Regions from separate parts of the Homo sapiens genome. Here all the other regions are linked to region 4. The links are contacts of gene promoters, found by promoter capture Hi-C in blood cells and fetal thymus (Javierre and others, 2016). All regions are on one chromosome and are shown on one strand. The core of a region is centred on a gene start or on the middle of the fragment in contact, and the rest is flanking DNA. Distances in the headings are between cores, read along the strand shown. Region 1 holds the start of DNAH8 (dynein axonemal heavy chain 8). Region 2 holds the start of BTBD9 (BTB domain containing 9). Region 3 overlaps BTBD9 (BTB domain containing 9). Region 4 holds the start of CCDC167 (coiled-coil domain containing 167). Region 5 overlaps BTBD9 (BTB domain containing 9).

Region 1 (2,700 bases), core at 1-2,500, 1.2 Mb after region 4:
AGTTAGAGGGTAGGTAGGTCTTGCATTTCGGCACAGTCAGCAAGGATATTCAGGAACTCCCTTGCTCCCATAAGCTTATATTGTATAATCACTGAGTAATGTCTATTAATATGGATGGACCATGGTTTATTTAATTTGTGATTTTTTATATTCATTCTTGTTTTTTTTTTCAGTTGACAGACCTTTCAGTCCTCATTCCACATTGATCTGCTCTACATTCAAAGACTGACTTTCACACCTGTAAGACAAAATAGTTTATGTAAGAAGCTATATTTGCTCATTCTGCTTGCCAGCAGAATGTCAGAGAATTCTTTGGCAGCTACATTTCACAAATCCCCTAACTCAGTGACTAAGTGCAGCCCCTGGAAGAATGCCCCTGAAGATGATAACATCTCTTGCATGAATCTTTTCTTGCAAAAGTTCCAGGATCCTAACTCATGCCTCTTCCTGTACATAATAAGATAATAGCTGATAGGATTAATGATTATGCCTCTACAATCTATAACCAGATGTACCCTTGAACCCCACCCTTGATGAGATTTTGCTCTAATGTAACTGCTGAGCTCATTTGATGTAACTGCTGAGCACATCTGATGCCACTTCCCATCACATGCCACCACCTGTACCTAAGCTTTGGAGCAGTCTCACAGAAAGTCTCTGAAAGACTCTCCGGATTGCAATCCTTAGTAAGACATCTGAATAAAACTAATATTAATTATTTAAATGACTGATTTTTTTTTCTTTGGTTAACACACCCAACTAAAAACGGACCGCTCACATCATGTCAGGCAGTCACAGCAAAAGCAGAACCGTACTAGAGAGGGGAGGGGGTGGACTTGGGAGAGAAGTCAGTTTTCCCCCAGAATCTTTCTCTCTCATCAGTCACAGGTTTCTGAACACACTGACTCACCAGGAAACACTTTTTAGGTTCTCAAGGAAAACACTAAGTAACTTCAGAAACTGTAAAGGTCATAGAAAACATTATTTTATATATTTCCGTATTACCACGTATACGCGGGAATCCTCCCAAGCCCCTGGCACCGCACTCCAAATGTCCATCTCCAGGAACCCGCCCTTCAGTGCCTGGGGTCCCCTAAACAATGTTTCAGTCCTCGGGCTCGGTGGGTGCATCCTTTATTGGGGAGCGCGGGGGCTGCCCGTGCCCCTCCAGTCGCTCCCCGTAGGGAGCTGCGCACTGCGGAGCCCTCGCCCCCGAGCGAGCCTGTCTCGGACTCCCAACCGTCAGCCTCGTTCCGGGCCGCGGAGGCCGGAGCAGCTCCCCCGGGGCAGCGCAACCGCTGGGGCCGGCCTCAGTGGGCTGAGTGGTCGGGGCATCGGGGCCCAGAGAGCGGCTGGTGAGTACTTGGTCGGAGCGCGCTGTGAGCGCCCGGCCCCTGTCCGGGAGGCCCTGATGCAGCCGGGTTCCCCGCCCACTTTCCTTCTTTTTAGGGGACTGGAATCCACGCTACAGTTCAGTCCTCCACCTCTGTTAGTTGAACCCAGGGAACCCCTGCTTCAAAACCCCAGCTGAGTCACTACCCTTTGTCAGTCTCTACACTGGACATCTAAGTGACTTCACACCCACTCCCCGTTTTGAGACTAGAAAACCAAATACCGCACGTTCTCACCTATGAGTAGGAGCTAAGCTATTGCTACGCAAAGGCATCCAGAGGGGTATAGTGGACTTCGGAGACTCAGAAGGGGAAGGGTGGGAGGGGGGTGAGGGATGAAACAACTACATATCGCTTGCAATGTATGCTACCTGGATGACCCTGAAGTCTCAGACTTCACCACTATCCAATGCATCCATGTAAAAAAACCACCTGTACCCGAAAAGCTATTAAAATAAATAAATAAATAAATAAATATATATATATATATATATATATATATATATATATTTTTTTTTTTTTTTTGAGACGGAGTCTCACTCTGCCGCCCAGGCTGGAGTGCAGTGGTGCGATCTCGGCTCACTGCAATTTCTGCCTCCCTGGTTCAAGCCATTCTCCTGCCTCAGCCTCCCGAGTAGCTGGGGCTACAGGCACCCGCCATCACGCCCGGCTAATTTTTTTTGGTATTTTCAGTGGAGACGGGGTTTCACAGTGTTAGCCAAGATGGTCTCGATCTCCTGACCTTGTGATCCGCCCACCTCGGCCTCCCAAAGTGCTGGGATTACAGGCATGAGCCACCACGCCCGGCCATATACCTATATATTTTTAAAAATTCAAAAATAAAACAAAAAAAATGCCTCTCCCTCCGGCTTATTTCCCGTTCCTCTACCCTTCTCATTCCCCTCTAGCCCAAAAGTCTCATCACTGAATTTACCACTTTTCCCAAGATAGTTGTGCCTCTTTTTGCTTCTCTGCTTTTGTACGCCACTGTTCCCACCTTCTGCCTATAATGTTTCTCTCTCCCATCCTCTCCTGACAACTCTTCTTTAGACCCGACTCGGGTGGTACCTTCTCCGTCAAGTTTTCTTTCTTTCTTTTTTTGTTTTTCAGAAGTTTTGCTGCCTGCTAAGCTCTCTTAGCCCTTCGTTAATTCACCTGTCATTGACATTGACCATCTTGTGTTGTATTCAATAGTCTGTCACACCAATTTGATTGTGCATTTTGCTTTGGAGAAGTCCTTAGTCTTTTATGTAGCCACAGTGGCCAGACATGCAGAAGACGTTCAATATTGCTGAATGAACTAATGCAT
Region 2 (2,700 bases), core at 162-2,661, 1.1 Mb after region 4:
GGGCAAGGAGGAAAACACAGATGACTCCTGTCCTAAAAGCTATTACAGTGGAGGGAGGAAGACACTTTGAATTCCGAGTAATCTAATAAGTGTTACAAAGCAAGGTTATTACTGGTTCCAAGAGGTAACATACTTTACAGATTCTCAGTTATGAAACAGAATCATAGAATTTTAGACCTAAATGAGAACCTTGAACTTATTTTCCTCTATCCTCTTACACAAAACATTAGATTTCAGTACAGCCTATCTTTTCACTGGTTCTACAAATTGCCTTAATCAACAGAAAGAAAAGACTGGCTTCTTCCCTGTCTCCAATATTCCTCGCTCCCAAGTATGGTAACCACAACCCCTATACATCTACCCATGATAGAGTCCAGAGCACTGAGAAGACAGCACAGGGCTGAGGATGAGCTACACCTTTACATGCTGGGTTCTCCCATCATCAACACTTTCCGCCCACACAGTGAACAGAATCCGTATTTTCTGCCCAGAAAATAGCAGCCTGTACTGCCTTTAGGAAAAACAAACAAAACATGCTTCCATACTTCCTTGGATCTACTAATGACAAAAGCACAACACGGTTCTGGGAAATATAGCAAGATAACTAAGTCTATGAGGAAGTAAGAAATGAGGATGCCTATCAGCACCTTGGTCTCAAAATCTGTAACAACAATGTACTAAAACGCCAAGGAAACACATGCACATACATGTGAAGTTAGAAACTCTAGGCAACAGGTTGGCTGCCCCGGATCTATACTGACAGGTCGCCCTCCCAAGGTCGTGGGTGTGTCTGATGCCGCACGCAGGCACTGATTCACAACTCTCTCCATAACAACCAGCTCCTACTCAGAGGCTGGCCAGGGCAGGGGAGATGAGGGCCCCAGCAGTCCCAAACTTTCCAAACCCCCACCCCGGGGTCCCGGGTTTCGCCTCCTCAGTCCCAGGCAACGTCGTCTCAGACAGGATACGAGACTGCTAGGGAACCTGGGCTGCCCCTGATTCGAACTCCTCTCTTTGGGAGGCTGGTAGAGCCACCCCGAATCCCCGAAACGTCTACTTCCCACTACACCTTCGTGGACTGCGAACGGGACGGCTACCGCTCTCCCAGAGCACCCGGGCCCAAGAAATGACCCTCGTCAGGCCCCGTCCCAGCTCCTCCCCCGCCCCCGGAAAAAGCGGCGGAGGGGCGGGGGGCGGTGCGCGCGGATACGGCGGGGGCGCGCGTCCCCGCGCCGCAGGTGCGGCCAGGCCCCACCTCCCCTGCAAGGACCCGGCTACTCACCCCAGCGATGCTCCTCTGAGACCAAGCTGCGACACAGACGCCTCTTCCGCCCGCTCCGCACCCCTCTCTGCGCCACCGCCCCCTTGGCCGCTTCCGTGGCCGCCGTCCTCGCCGCCGCCCCGGCTGCTGCGGCGCGCGTCCGCTTTCACGCACTCCGCCGTGGCCGCGCACGCGCCACTGCGCGCTGGCGTCACTTAGCAACCGATCGACAGCGGGCTGCTGGGTCCGGCGATGCAGGCCCAGAAAGTCGCCTAAGGCAGCTTCCGCGGCTTTTTCGCATCGGCCCGACCCTCTGCCCCTCCAGAACAGGGGGCCCCAGGGTGTGGCTGCCCTGCCGGCACCTGGCTCCGGGTAAGTCGAGTCACCACACGTCACTGTATGGCGTCACCGGCGCACGTCACTACGGATGAGAAGGTCCTGGGCGCCTGTGGAGTGACCTCGTCCAGACCGCCGCAGACCCGATCGGCAAGTTCTTGGAGGTGCAGGAAGGTTCTCCAAGGAGTAGGACCAGAAAGGGATGAGAGCGCGAGCGCGGTTAATGTCGAGGCTGCTAAGTGATGCTCGTTAATTTCGCAGCAGGGTGTGACTGGCCCAGCCTTGACTCTCAGTTTCCTCTCTCAGTAAATGGGCATAATAATACCGGTCCAGCCTACGCTGGAGAATTGTGAGGTGAAAATGAAATAAGGTATGCAAAGGTACTTTGTAAGTATAAAGCCCATTTGACTTGGTGGCTCAAGCCTGTAATCCCAGCACTTTGGGAGGCCGAGGTGGGCGGATCGCTTGAGCTCAGGAGTTCGACACCAGCCTGGGTAACATAGTGAAACCCCGTCTCTACAAAAAAGACAAAAACTAAATGGGCATGTTGGCGCGCGCCTGTAGTCACAAATGCTCGGGGGGCTGAGGTGGGAGGATCGCTTGAACCTGGGGAGTTCAAGATTGCAGTGAACCGTGATCGCGCCGCTGCACTCCAGCCTCTGCAGTGAGAGCAAGACACTGTCTCAAAAAAATGTATTTATCTATCTACATAGATAAGAGTCCTAGAAATCCGGGTGCAGGTCTGACTGTAGCTGGTGTAGGAAAGTCAGTTATCCCCGACGCTGGAGCAAGCTAGGGGACCGCCCTTGCAGTTGTTGGAGGAGACAAATTGGGAAGGACTTAATTCCGGGCAAAGGAAGCTTCATGAGTAAAAGTAGAAAGTGAAAATGGTCAGGAAAAGCAAGGCTTGGGGCAGGGAGACCCATTTTTAGGCCATTGCAGTACTCCAGACAAGTGATAAGAACATTAAACAAGGCATTGGCAGTGGGAATAGAGGAGGGGATAGATGTTAGCGCCATTAAGGTGGTAGAATTCACAGCACTGAGTGCGGATAAATGAGTAGGCCAGGTTTCTAGCATGAGTGCTGAGGTAGACAGTGGTAA
Region 3 (2,700 bases), core at 69-2,568, 1.1 Mb after region 4:
TTTCTCTTCACCATATGGTAAAATGCATTTAAAAGGTTATAATATTCAAAACCAATGAATCAAGTAAATAATGTTAACTCATGGTAGAATACAAAACGACTATTAAAAATACATTTTAGAGGAATATTTTTTAAAGGGTAGAGTGTTCACAATGTATTAATTTAAAAGTAAAATTAGCTTTTTGTATATCTAATCTTCATTTTATAAAACTATGTTTGTGCAGGTTTCTGTTTTGTGTGTGTATGTGTCCATGCATAATTGAAAAAAATGCTAGATACATATGAAGATTAATAATGGGTAATGAGATTACTAGCAATTTTTATTTTCTTCTATGTGCTCTTCTATATTTTCTATGGTTTCTACAATAAACACATATTTTTATAAGAAGAAACAAACAAAAAAGTGTATTTCTTTTAAAGAAATATATCCTTTAACTCCTTCCCCAAAACCAACCTTCAAGAGATAGCAGAATGATCACAAAGAAATAAACCATCATATCTGTAAAACAAAAGTAGATGACCACAAAGCTAAGTCATCTCAAACATAATGTCAGTTTCTAAGTCATGCTAATCACTTACCGGCTATCTCGGTCCCACAAGAGTATCCGTATGTGATTGATAATGGATGGCTGACCTAGCTTAATCTCGATGCCGGAACGGCAGTCATCATCAATTGGGTGCCTTGAAAATCCATGATCCAAATCATAATTTTGAGTATCACCATCTAATAAGGCTGATTTCAGCTCCCCCTTTACAACTTGGGCTCCATACTTCATAGTTGCAATGTTTTCTTCTGGTACTACAGTTAAAAATAGAAAAAGCAAGGTTAATGATTACTTATTTATTCTGTATTTTTTGAAAAAAATACAATTCTAGCATTCCAGTTTATTCTAGTATCTGCATTTAAGAACAGCATAGACAAGTTTATTGGATAGAAAATACAGAACATCTATGAGGATTAAGACACCATTCAGAGGCCGGGTGCAGTGGCTCATGCCTGTAATCCCAGCACTTTGGGAGGCCGAGGCAGGTGGATCACTTGAGCCCAGGAGTTTGAGACCAGCATGGGCAACATGGGAAGACCCTGTCCCTATTAAAAACAAACAAAAAAAATGTTCAGAGTTTAAATGTAATATTAGTATCACAACCACAAAGTGCTTGAGACTAATGTTATTTTTCAAAAGTTAATAAAACTAGAAAAGGCATGTACTAGGACAAACAAATCAGCTCTGCTGAGTTCATTCTACTAGTAACTTTAATATCTACTAAACAGGCGGGGTGCAGTGGCTCATGCCTGTAATCCCAGCACTTTGGGAGGCCGAGGTGGGCGGATCACCTGAGGTCAGGAGTTCGAGATCAGCCTGGGCAACACAGTAAAACCCCGTCTCAACTAACAATACAAAATTAGCCAGGCGTGGTGGCACATGCCTATAATCCCAGCTACTCGGGAGGCTGAGGCAGGAGAATCACTTGAACCTGGGAGGCAGAGGATGCGATGAGCTGAGATCGCGCCATTGCACTCTAGCCTGGGCAACAAGAGTAAATCTCCGTCTCAACAACAAAAAAATCTACTAAACAAAAATAGCATGTAAGATGACCTGTACCTGCCATCTGGACTGAGGACAATGTATAAAAGCAAAGCAAACAGGTCAGAAATCTGTTAAAACAACAGAAAAAGAAAGGTTCCAATATAGCATAGCTGTTAGTTATATATGAATATGCTGAAATTAATTAATCTAGCTTATAAAACAAGATCGTTTAAAAAAGATATCTTTTTTCTGCACTTGAGAATTTTTAAAAATGAAAATTGATAGTCTGTCATCAAAATCAGTATTATGGTTATTATTAAATCCCCTCCCCTCACCAACATTAGATTTATTAACCACCAATTGTGCCTGGGACTCTGAAGTCCTCCGTGTAAATTATGCTTCACAGATGTGGAACCTATCTTCCAGGTACTAACATTCTAAAACTGACACTCTCCATGGAAAGACAAGAGGCTGCAGAAAGATATTAAGAGCTTGAAGAGTCAGAGATTAAACAGTGGCTCCACATTTAGCCAGGTGCATCACTTTGAAGAAGTTTCCCTCTCTCAACTTCCATTTCTCAATGGGGTGGGGGGGAGACCATATCTATCCCCCAGGTGTTTCTGTTTAAGAATTAAATGAGATGATGTTTGTAAAGCATATTATGAGCTCTACTCATATATACATATATTTTCAAAATATACAGCCATTACTATTAAGAAAACATATTAAAAAGCACACGATAAGAGAACTATGTATGTTTACAGACTGTAAAAAAATACCGAATTCTCACAGTACACATACATTTTGGTTGTGTGATTTGAATACGGGAAAGTCTGGGCTATAATCAGGTTATTGGCAAAAAGATAGTAATTCATCATTGCAGATTTCTGGAAAAATTTTTTTTAATTTCAAATGAAGATGAGTAAAGAGAGTGGCACCAGAAAAGAACAATATATTGCAGCTGAAAAATGGAAGTTTAAAATGGAAGCAAAAGACTGTAGCAACCCAGCAAAAATAAACAAAACATCCTAGTTATGCTTAACTTCTTACCATCAGAAGTTTAAGTGCTATCGATTTATAACTTTCTAAATTCTATTAGCGTGTGATAATCACCCATATTCTTCCTATTTAACAAATCTTCTATAATACATGACGTGCTAGACACTGTCCTA
Region 4 (2,700 bases), core at 94-2,593:
GGTGGCTCATGCCTGTAATCCCAGCACTTTGGGAGGCTAAGGCGGGCGGGCAGATCACTTGAGGTCAAGAGTTCAAGACCAGCCTGGCCAACACGGTGAAACCCCGTCTCTACAAAAATACAAAAATTAGCCAGGCATGGTGGCACGTGCCTGTAATCCCAGCTACTCGGGAGGCTGAGGCACGAGAATCGCTTGAACCCAGAAGGCAGAGTTTACAGTGAGCCGAGATCACGCCACTGCACTTCAGCCTGGACAACAGAGCGAGACTCTGTCTTAAAAAAAAAAAAGCAGATTCCTTGTTAAGAATGCACATCAAAGTCCTACTGAATTACTCGGGGTGTGGGAAGAGTTCAACTCTCCATTTTTAACAAGCCCTGTGACTCTATGCATGCTAAAGTTTGAGAATCACTGAACTCACTAGTAAGCCTGAAGAAGACTATGACCCTGTACCTCTCCTGCAACCTCCGGGAGGATGCCCTAAGGGAAGGAAAACAGGGGAAGCAAGATGAATTTCCAGGAAGACCACCTGTGCTTGATTCCCAGGCTCCACCACTTCCACCATCTCAGCCTGGGTTCCACCTGGAACCTCAATTTCCTCATCTGTACAAACCTCACAGGCTTGCAGTGAGGATTAACAATGCAATGAAAGTAGCACATAGCGGTTGCTCAGTATGTATGTTTTCTTTCCCTTCTATATGCAGCAAATTATTTTTAAGCCATTCAGTGACATCACCAATTCCAGAATTCTCTTTACATATTCCCAAAGTAATTTTGAAGGTACAAGCTTCCATACTCCGGAGGAAAAATTTCCCCTTTTAGAGGATATTTAAACCATTAATAATATACACCAGAATGGGCTCCCTCATCTTTGAGTCCTAGCCCTTTGGGAGTTCTCCTTAGATTCTACAGGTCCCTATTTCTCTGGGGTCTCCCTCACCTCTGTACCCATCCCTTTTGTTCTGTGTCCCCCGCTTTGAGTTCCCTCACTTCTATGCCAGGCCGTCTTTGGGGCTCCCCTTCACTTCCATGTCTCTTCCTCTCTGGAGATGCCCTCTCCAGAGAGTCTGGTTCGCCCATCCGGCACCTCCTCGGGCTCCCTGTCCTCCGGGAACCCCGTGGGCCTTCTCACCCCTCCCGTCCCTCTCCCCAAACCGCGTCGCCCTCTCATCCTACGCTTGGCTCCTCCTCCTATCTATAGCCCAGCCTATCCCTTATCCCGCGGCCAGGAGAAGGCAACTAACGAGGTGGCCCAACCCCCACTTTTCCCCTCACCTCTAGAGCGACGCCCAGATTCTCCCGCTTCTTTTTAGTCATGTTACTTGCCGGGATCCCCCAGTCATCACTGGACGCGCCCACCAAGTCGCTATGTGCGCATGCTCAAGTCTTCGTGCTTCTCCCTCATTGGCCACCGAGTCAGCGGGAGGTGGGGCTGCTGCCGTCGCCATCTTGTTGAGGGGCGCGGCCGGCTTGGTGCGGACATGTTTATGAGGGGCAACCTCTAGCTTGAGACCTCAGCCTAGATGGGTGGAGGGTGGAAAAGTCGGTACAGGGAGGCAGAATGTACAGCCCGGGAGTAGACCTGCCCCTTTCTTCCCCAGTTTTAAGCCGCTTTGCATCACTGAGAGCCTTTTTTAACCCCATGTTCTCTTTCAGTGTGTTTTGTGTTTCAGCAACAACCCCGTCCCTGTTTAGGCCACGCCCCCCATTCAAAGTCTGTCCATCCTTCAAGGCCGGTGCTGGAGCCTTGAGCTTCTCGGCCAATGGAATCTGATAATGGCCCTCTATTGTTATTTCTCCTTTGTGTCTTGACTTCTTTTTTTTTTTTTTTTTGGTTTGTTTTATTGTAAGAACAACCTACAAACATCACAGAAAACATATAACTGAGAAGCAGCATCCTTTATTCTACCAACTTTATCAGTTCCTCTTTGCTTCTGTTTATTCCTCCCAGGCTTGGCCTCACACACAGTATTTTACATTGTTGTAATCGTACTATACTGTACACCATAGACCCACGGCCTTTGAAATGTTTTGACTGTGACCCTACGATAAAAAAATGTATTTTATACCATGGCCCAGTTACCCATGAAACCAAAACCAAAGTTTCACAGTAAGTACCTTTACCTCCTGTAATGCACTCTGTTATTTTGTATTCTTGCCTATTTAATTAAAAAAAAACAAAGTCGGGCACGGTGGCTCAGGCCTGTAATCCTGTGTCTGGAGTTGGTTCCTTCAGGTGGGTTCTTGGTCTCACTGACTTCACGGTGAGTGTTACAGCTCTTAAAGGTAGCACGGACCCAGAGAGTGAGCAGCAGCAGGATTTATTGTGAAGAGCAAAAGAACAAAGCTCCCACATCATGGAAGGGGACCTGAGTGGGTTGCCACTGTTGACTGGGGGATGGCCAGCTTTTATTCCCTTATTTGTCCCCTGTTACAGAGCACTGACTGGTCCATTTTACAGAGTGCTGATTGGTGCATTTACAGTCCTTTAGCTAGACACAGAGTGCTGATTGGTGCATTTTTACAGAGTGCAGATTGGTGCATTTACAATCCTTTAGCTAGACACAGAGCGCTGATTGGTGCGTTTTTACAGAGCACTGACTGGTGCATTTACAATCCCTAGGTAGACACAGAGTGCTTATTGGTGCATTATAATCCTTTAGCTAGACACAGAGCGCTGATTGGTGGGTTTTTACAGAGTGC
Region 5 (2,700 bases), core at 16-2,515, 1.1 Mb after region 4:
TAAAGAGAAACAAAGACTTCAAAAACAATATTGCTACAGTCCCCTCCAGTACCCCCAAACTGGAAATCTTTATTTATGTAATGCCTTTTGATTTAATGAGTGACCTGCAGTCCTTTCTCCAAGATAAAAGTATAATCTGCTGATTAGCTACTCTTCTAGAATAGATTATTGCTCATCAAGGTTCTGTTTCTTTGCCTCACTGGTTAAAAGACAATTTTACTAAGGATGACTCACCCCATCTCTAACTCTCCTTGCCTGTGTTTGTTGCTGCTGTTCGTTACCAGCAAAACTGGAGAGGGAAGACACACAGACACATAAAGACAAGTATATAACCCATTACAGGAGGTTCTCATTATTCCAGAACAACAATTACCTGAAAAAGGACATTTAAAGTGAATTCACTTGAAATAACGACCAAAATTCCATAGTGAATGTGGAAAAGGGGTTTCATTACATTAAAAATTGAGATTAAATGTAAGTATATATTTAATCTTCTACTTAACAAAACGTATGTAATAAATGCAACTATGTGCTAACCAAAATAGTAGTAGTAGCAGTAGTAGTGATAAACAGTTGTTAGATATCTTTTAGTTTTTCTAGCATTTCCTAACTTCCCCAGCACAATTACAGTGAAGAATATTCTTCCAAAAATACCTGGACATCACCAACATTCCTTTAATTTTTAATTGTCAGATTCTTCTTTTGAAATGCTTACCATGTCATCATTTTGGTGGATTTTCTCTTTCTCAATTATTCACTGGTCTCATGCTGCCAGAATTTTATTTGCCAATGGCTTCGTATGTCAGTCTGGCAGCTTTTCAACCTCACTTTTCTCTATTTCATGAAATCTTTATTTCTTGTATTTTTGCAAAATCTGCCATCTGACTTTGCAATTGAGTACACTGATTTTACATCTTCCGAACAATCAGTAAAACACTATAACTAATGGGATGGGCAGGAATAGAATTCACAGGGATGAATGTTTGAGTGGGAACTAATTTTACACGTGGACAGTTCATTAGTGAACATTTTTATACTATGATTACTTCTGTTTCCCTATGCAACCTTCAAAACTGCAAGGCTCGAGGTAATGAATATTCAGCTAACAAGGGCATCATATACGAAAGGCCACAGTCATCATGGAAATGCCTGTCTTTGGGAACTAGAAAGGTTTCTCAGGGAACTAGAAGCACATCCCAAGGTACATCCTAACATTCTACATTTTAATGTTTCCTGTCTGCATGGCCTATCATCATAGTATAAATAGACTAAATAAAATGATAACTAGTATGCATCCCACTATTTGATCATGAAAATGATTTCAATCTGGCACCATTCACTAACTATAACAGCAAAATTAAAATCTTGATTTATTAATTTAAGCATTCAAATGTATATCTGACAACTGCCAGATTCCAGACCTACTAAGGGGTCTGGAAAGTCAAATGGCAAATGCTTTTAGAAGATTAAGAGATATATAGCAAGCATATGGATATTATCTTTGTCCTATAAAGTGTGTGTGTGTGTGTGTGTGTGTGTGTGTGTGTGTGTGTGTGTGAGAGAGAGAGAGAGAGAGAGAGAGATTTGATCACCCAGGAGTAAAAGTTATTACTTCAGAATCCAAAGTCCAAAATAAAACATTTTTTTTTAATCTTTGAAGCCTCACACACAAAAAAAGATAATACCACAAGATGATAAACAGAGATGAAAAAGACAGCACTGTGTGTTTAAAAAGACCTTCGGCCGGGCGCGGTGGATCATGCCTGTAATCCCAGCACTTTAGGAGGCCGAGGCGGGTGGATCACCTGAGGTCAGGAGTTCGAGATCAGCCTGACCAACATGGTGAAAACCCGTCTCTACTAAAAATACAAAAATTAGCCAGATGTAGTGGCGCCTGTAATTCCAGCTACTTGGGAGGCTGAGGCAAGAGAATCGCTAGAACCTGGGAGGTGGTGGTTGCAGTGACCCGAGATCGGGCCATTGCACTCCAGCTTGGGGAACAGAGCGAGACTCCATCTCACCAAAAAAAAAAAAAAAAAAAAAAAAAAAAAAAAAAAAAAAAAGGGCCAGGCACGGTGGCTCACATCCTCACATCTGTAATCCCAGCACTTTGGGAGGCCACGGTGGGCAGATCATGAGATTGGGAGTTTGAGAACAGTCTGGCCAACATGGCAAAACCCCGTCTCTACTAAAAATACAATAATTAGCTGGCAGTGGTGGCAGGCGCCTGCAATCCCAGCTACTCAGGAGGCTGAGGCAGGAGAATCACTTCACCCCGGAGGCAGAGGCTGCAGTGAGCCAAGATCGTGCCATTGCACTCCAGCCTGGGCGACAAGAGCAAGACTCAGTCTCAAAATAAATAAATAAATAAATAATAAAAAGACCTTTAGAGTCAGACAGACCTCAGCTTCAGTCCCAGCGGTTATGTTCTAGCTGTGTGATTATAAGTTCAATATGCTCTCTAAGCCTCAGTTTCCTCATTTGTGAAATACAATAGTTGGACAATAATACTTATTTCCTGGGTAAGACCAAATGAAATACTCAGTGTCTGGAAAATTGTGGGCCTTACCTATGTTATAAACCATATCTTAGCTAATAAATAATTTTCCTCCTTCTTCCAGGCATTATGACAACAATGTAAACCTTCTACCTGTTTATAAAAACAAGGTATTAGGATATCACTATGAGGACTCTGTCAGA

What was found. The method cuts DNA at HindIII sites, captures the fragments that hold promoters and counts their contacts. A CHiCAGO score of 5 or more calls a contact.
Region 1: a contact is called between the fragment with the promoter of DNAH8 here and the fragment with the promoter of CCDC167 in region 4, in 1 of 17 cell types (naive B cells). The highest score is 6.6, in naive B cells.
Region 2: a contact is called between the fragment with the promoter of BTBD9 here and the fragment with the promoter of CCDC167 in region 4, in 1 of 17 cell types (total B cells). The highest score is 8.5, in total B cells.
Region 3: a fragment that was not itself captured here is called in contact with the fragment with the promoter of CCDC167 in region 4 in 1 of 17 cell types (total B cells); the score reaches 6.9 in total B cells.
Region 5: a fragment that was not itself captured here is called in contact with the fragment with the promoter of CCDC167 in region 4 in 2 of 17 cell types (total B cells and naive B cells); the score reaches 6.7 in total B cells.

Annotation. Positions count from the first base shown.
Region 1 is chr6:38,714,061-38,716,760 of GRCh38, forward strand. DNAH8 (dynein axonemal heavy chain 8) reads left to right here and starts at 1,251. Exons shown (of 93, transcript NM_001206927.2): 1 at 1,251-1,355. It overlaps DNAH8-DT (DNAH8 divergent transcript), which reads right to left and starts at 1,155. Exons shown (of 2, transcript NR_186581.1): 1 at 1,006-1,155; 2 at 110-238. RefSeq lists a silencer at 1,238-1,287. The HindIII fragment of the contact is 3,077 bases long and covers 630-2,700 here.
Region 2 is chr6:38,638,518-38,641,217 of GRCh38, forward strand. It overlaps BTBD9 (BTB domain containing 9), which reads right to left and starts at 1,412. Exons shown (of 11, transcript NM_001099272.2): 1 at 1,283-1,412. It overlaps LOC105375044 (a long non-coding RNA gene), which reads left to right and starts at 1,878. Exons shown (of 3, transcript XR_926767.4): 1 at 1,878-1,967. RefSeq lists a silencer at 1,075-1,274 and enhancers at 1,374-1,874, 1,675-1,754. The HindIII fragment of the contact is 9,229 bases long and covers 1-2,455 here.
Region 3 is chr6:38,579,640-38,582,339 of GRCh38, forward strand. It overlaps BTBD9 (BTB domain containing 9), which reads right to left. Exons shown (of 11, transcript NM_001099272.2): 5 at 579-798. Among named protein-coding and RNA genes, the nearest start is that of BTBD9, 59 kb to the right of the region's middle. The HindIII fragment of the contact is 3,488 bases long and covers 1-2,700 here.
Region 4 is chr6:37,498,550-37,501,249 of GRCh38, forward strand. It overlaps CCDC167 (coiled-coil domain containing 167), which reads right to left and starts at 1,344. Exons shown (of 4, transcript NM_138493.3): 1 at 1,273-1,344. The coding sequence starts at 1,314. RefSeq lists an enhancer at 1,337-1,536. The HindIII fragment of the contact is 3,379 bases long and covers 783-2,700 here.
Region 5 is chr6:38,554,994-38,557,693 of GRCh38, forward strand. All of the region lies in intron 6 of BTBD9 (BTB domain containing 9), which reads right to left. Among named protein-coding and RNA genes, the nearest start is that of BTBD9-AS1, 75 kb to the left of the region's middle. The HindIII fragment of the contact is 2,930 bases long and covers 1-2,700 here.